2 separate regions of the Homo sapiens genome follow, and region 1 is linked to region 2. Evidence: promoter capture Hi-C in 16 types of primary human blood cells and fetal thymus (Javierre and others, 2016). All regions are on one chromosome and are shown on one strand. Each heading gives the region's core, a stretch centred on a gene start or on the middle of the fragment in contact. The rest is flanking DNA. Distances are from core to core; before and after follow the strand shown.

Region 1 (2,700 bases), core at 141-2,640, 1.1 Mb after region 2:
AATCCCAGCACTTTTCGAGGCTACAGTGGACAGATTGTTTGAGCCCAGGCATCTGGCAAACAGATGCCATGTTAGGAAGGGCTGGCAGGATGAATGAAAATCAGGCAAAAGCTCAAGGATGTTGTCTAAACATTTTGTTCTTATGGGACCAGAACAGTTGATGTAGTTTTGAAATTTGTCCCCACCCAAATCTCATGGAAATATAATCCCCAGTGTTGTAGGTGGGGCCTGGTGGGGTATTGGGGTTATGGGGCGGATCCCTCATGGCTTGGTGCTGTCCTCTCCATAGTGAGTTCTTACAGATCAGGTTGTTGTAAAGTGTGGCACCTCCTTCCCACACTCACTCTCTTGCTCACTCTGTGATGTGACATGCCTGCTCCTGCTTCACTTTCCGCCATGAGTAAAAGGTCCCTGAGGCCTCCCAGAAGCTGAGCAATGTCAGATGCCATGCTTGTACAGCCTGCAGAACTGTGAACCAGTTAAACCTCTTTTCTTATAAACTACCCAGTCTCAGGCATTTATTTATAGCAATGCAAGAACGGCCTAATACAGGAGTGAACCATGAACTGATCTTTCTCTGGTGGACAAAACAAAGGCAATGCCTGTGAAGGCAGAAACTAACATTATTCATCTGCTTTTGATACTTCCAAGAGGCTAATACAGTATAAAAAATTTAATTTCTCAAAACTCACAGCTGGCTGGGCGTGGTGGCTCACGCCTGTAATCCCAGCACTTTGGGAGGCTGAGGCCGGTGGATCACGAGGTCAGGAGTTCAAGACCAGCCTGGCCAAGATGGTGAGACCCCCATCTCTACTAAAAATACAAAAAATTAACCAGGCGCGGTGGCAGGTGCCTGTAGTCCCAGCTACTCAGGAGGCTGAGGAAGGAGAATAATTTGAACCCGGAGGGTGGAGGTTGCAGTGAGCCGAGATTGTGCCACTGCACTCCAGCCTGGGTGACAGAGTGAAACTCTGTCTCAAAAAAAAAACAAAAAAAACAAAAAAAACCTCACAGCTGTTTACTAAAGTTACTCACCACACTTAGCTTCATACTTGACTGCTGTTACTATGTATTGACATCAGAACAAAACAAACTGAAACTAAAAGTTGATATGTAACAACAACAGACATTGGTGCAGTTTCCTTCCTGGAGAGGGTAGGCACCAGATCATGAGACCTGAGATAAAACAAACTAGATTGTCAAGAATCCAACAAGGACTACATTTTACCTCTTAATAGAAAAAATGCTGGAGACAAAACGAGATGTTTAAAAATATTCTTCATGCTAAGCTTATGTAAGCAAATAAAAAAACAAAAGTAACCCTAAAATGTTAGGACATTGGATACAGAAGTAACATGACTATTTAAATGTTTGCATCAATGAAAGTTTGTTCTATCCTTCCCTGTACTTATAGACAAGGACATGCTTGTTGCTTCTACACTACCCAAAGTCAACAGTTATCATTAGCAATGCAATAGAAATAGATGGGAATAAAGCTTCAAAGCGACTCTGCTCCACCAAAATTTAGAAATTCAATTCAGGATGAACAACAGCTTTTGATTTTAAAACCAGCTCTTACTTTTCTCTCGTGTCACACGTGATGAAGTCCTCACTTGACATTTCCCCTGCAAATTGCAATGCATGTCCTCGCCATCAGCATTTTCTGACACTTTAATTTATAGAAATTGCAAAAACAATAAAATTGTACTTCCAATTCTGAACCTCCGACCAGATTCCTTCTTTGAGACAAAACTTACTCTTCTGCTGCGTACTCCTCTCCTCTTTATTTTTTTTTAATTTTTTTGGAGATAGAGCCTCCCTAGTGTCACCCAGGCTAGAGTGCAGTGGCACGATCATGGCTTACTGCAACCTCCACCTCCTGAGTTTAATCAATTCTCCTGCCTCAGCCTCTCGAGTACCTGGGACTACAGGCGCCTGCCACCAAGCCCGGCTAATTTTTGTAGTTTTAGTAGAGACTGGGTTTCACCATGTTGGCCAGGCTGGTCTCAAAGTCCTGACCTCAGGTGATCCACCCATATCGGCCTCCCAAAATGCTGGGATTACAGGCATGAGCCACCACGCCCGGCCTCTCCTCTTCTTTTCTATGGCTAATACCACTTTCCTGCTTTCTTTCTACTGCTGAATCTCCAGACTTGTCATCAGGGTGCCAGAGTCGACCTCGGCCTCGAGCTCCTCGATGGTAACACTGCATCCATGGACAGTCCTGAAGTACAATGAAATATGTTACTGTTACAACAATGCTACTAAGCTTTTACATGAGATTTTTAGGTTATACCTTATATATTAATATATACTAAAGCCCAGTCATTTAAGACCAAATATATGAGGGCATGGTAAATGACAACTTGCCCACTTCCTCTCTCCATCTCCAAAGAAAAGCAACCATTTCCTAATTATTATTTTTTATGTCTGGTTAAATTTATTTTCTTTGGAGACAGGGTCTCACTGTGTCAGCCAGGCTGCAGTGCAAGTGGCATGATCCAGCTTCGACATTCCAGACTGAAGGAATCCTACCACCTCAGCTCCCTAGTAGCTGGGATCGCAGGCCCGTGCTACCACATTGGGTTTTTAAATTTTAGCAGAGACGGGGTTGCCCTATGTTGCCCAGGCTGTTCTAGAACTCCTGAAGTTAAATGATCCTCCTACCTTGGCCTCCCAAATGCTAGGGTTACCTGCAGG
Region 2 (2,700 bases), core at 193-2,692:
GTTTGAGAGCCTTAATTCCAAGAGTGGAACCTTTGTTGTGAATAGGTTAAACAACCCTGTGCCCTTTGGGTGGGGTCTAGACTAGGTATATTATCAGCATTTTTATTGCTATACTTTTTGTAACTGTTTTCAGGTATATGCATTGGCTTAATTCGGCCAAAATACACCTCATTATGGGTCTCATCATCCACCTAGACATGATTCTTTTTTGGGAGAAGGTGATAGAATAATGTCCCCCTCCCATGATTCCATATCGTGATCCCCAACACCTGTGAATATGTTAACTTACATAGCAAAAATGACTTTTCAGTTATGATTAAATCAAGGATTTTGAGATGGGGAGATTATTATGAATTATCTGGTGGACCTAATCTAATCACAAGGGTATTTATAAGGGAAAAGGGGAAGTAAGAGGGTCAGAGTCAGATACGACAAGGGAAGCAGAGGTCTGAGTAGTTCCGCAACAAGCCAAGGAATGTGGGTAGCCTCTAGAAGCTGGAAAAGTCAAAGACACAGATTCTCCCCTAGAATATCCAGAAGGAATACATCTCTGCCCACACCTTGATTTAAGCTCAGTGTCACTTCTGACCTCCAGAACTGTAATAAAATAAAACTGTTAAATCACTAAATTTGTGGTCATTTTTGACAGCAGCAACAGGAAACGCCTAAGGACTCTTGTTTTCCTTCCTCCCAGCCTCACTGACCCTCATAGGCGCCCAAGTATCAATGTGTATTCTTCCGATTCACCTCCCATCCCTTTGAAAAATATGTAGAAAGTTTGTCGTGTGCTTTAAAAAATGCACGTATGGTATCCTCCCTCATGTTTGGAATGTTCCTTTTAAAATCAACATTATGTATTGCCAGCTTTCAAATATGCCCTTTGTCCTTTTCACAAAGCACAGTACTGCCAGTGTCCCCAACTCCACCCAGTGAAGTAGGGCTGGTATTACTAACCCTGGAGTCAGCGCTAGCAAACAAGGGCTCAGAGGTCAAGGGCTGGAAGCCAGGTCTCCAGACTCCCAGGCCAAGGCTCTTTTCCGCAGATGACTCTGTCCTGGTGTCCAGCAGGGCACAGCCCCTAGCACCTCCGAGGCCCCGCAAGTGTGCTGGCAGCGGCGACGCCGGCTCCGCCACGCGGAGGGAGGAGGCCCAGGCAGCGCCCGGAGTGGGCGGCGACGTGGTGGAAGAAGTTTTGTTCGGTCAGAGACCGGACGCGGGAGCTGCGGGTGGGCCAGGTGTCCAGCCTTGGGAGCCGTAGGAGCCGCCAGAGCCGCCAGAGCCGCCGGCGCCCCGCCCCGCCTCCTCCGGCCGCTCTCGCCGGCTCAGGTTACCTGAGGCCGGTGGGCGGGGCGGCCCTTCCCGTCTGCGCCGGCCCCCAGCCTCCAGGGCGGCGGAGCCGGGAAGTGGAAGAGGGAGCGAAGGAGGCGGGGACTGCCAAGGCTCCAGCCCGGCCGGGCTCCGAGGCGAGAGGCTGCATGGAGTGGCCGGCGCGGCTCTGCGGGCTGTGGGCGCTGCTGCTCTGCGCCGGCGGCGGGGGCGGGGGCGGGGGCGCCGCGCCTACGGGTGAGTGCGACCCTCGGGGCCCGAGGGGCGGCCGGAGGGCTGAGGGCGGTGAGGGTCACGGCTGAAAGGCCCCGGAGGTCAACGCCGGGCGGAGGGCCGAAGCTGGGGTGGGTGCTGGGGGCTGCCCTCGCGAGGCCCCGCGCTCGGCGGCTGCGGCTTCCCGCGCGGGATCTCTGGGGCCCGGTACTGGGGCCGGTTCGAGGTGGGACCCGGGAGCTGCGGGGTTTTCCCGAACTCCGGGTGCGGCGGAGGTGGCGGCAGCGAAGTAAGAGGGCTGCGACTTGTAGTGGGAAGAGCCCAGGAGGCTGGCGTCCAGGCGTGCGGGGGCGGGGGGCCCGAAACATGCCCACGGCGTCAGAGGGCCGTGGGTCAGCGCCCGGAATGTCGCCTGTGAGCCCGGGAGGAAATGAGGCGCCAGAGCCGGCGGGGACCACGACCGAAGTCCAGGCGAGCTGAGAACGCGCCGGGGCTCTTTGCCCGAGGCCGCGCCAATCCTCACTGTCTAAGGGTGGCTCTTGCGAGTGGAAGTTGAAGGGAACCTCTAAACATCTCAGTCCTTGTTGAAAAAGGACGTGACGCTCATGACCTCCTCTGGCGTCGAAGAAATCCTTTGGGAAATCCAGAATAGCATCCCGGCAGATGCTCCCCCCACCCCACTCTCTTTAATAAACCTTATATTTTAGGGTAATTGTAGATTTATGGAAAAGTTGCAAAGATACTTCAGAGAGTTGTGTATATCCCTCACCCTGTTTGGTAACTTCTAGTTAATCAACCTGGCAGTTGTGAAAAATTGGGAGTTAATGACTTCCTTAGGAGCAGCTCCTGGAAGGAATGGCCTTCTGGACGTTTTTGGTGACAATGAAAGCCCCAAACTGTATAGGTTTTATTATCACATTGACACAAACACTTATATATGCTTATTGCATTTTTACCAATGTGCTTTGAAATCCAAGTTGAAATGTTGATTAGGAAACCTTAATGCCCTCTATGGATTCAGTCAATAAAATACATGCTGCCAGGCAGTGTTTAGGGGCTGAGGATGCAGCAGTGAGCAAAACAGATGAGGTGCCTGCCCTCAGACATATCGGGGGGTGGGGGTAAAATATATGATATGTCTGAGGGTGTTAAGTAGAGAAA

Evidence for each region. Contacts are between HindIII fragments. The CHiCAGO score rates a contact against its expected background, and 5 or more counts as called.
Region 1: a fragment that was not itself captured here is called in contact with the fragment with the promoter of IL13RA1 in region 2 in 1 of 17 cell types (total B cells); the score reaches 5.5 in total B cells.

The regions. Positions count from the first base shown.
Region 1 is chrX:119,820,820-119,823,519 of GRCh38, forward strand. It overlaps a transcript of UPF3B not described here and the pseudogene LOC100422368. Among named protein-coding and RNA genes, the nearest start is that of RPL39, 31 kb to the left of the region's middle. The HindIII fragment of the contact is 207 bases long and covers 1,288-1,494 here.
Region 2 is chrX:118,726,164-118,728,863 of GRCh38, forward strand. It overlaps IL13RA1 (interleukin 13 receptor subunit alpha 1), which reads left to right and starts at 1,443. Exons shown (of 11, transcript NM_001560.3): 1 at 1,443-1,563. The coding sequence starts at 1,476. RefSeq lists a silencer at 1,052-1,481. The HindIII fragment of the contact is 2,975 bases long and covers 1-2,700 here.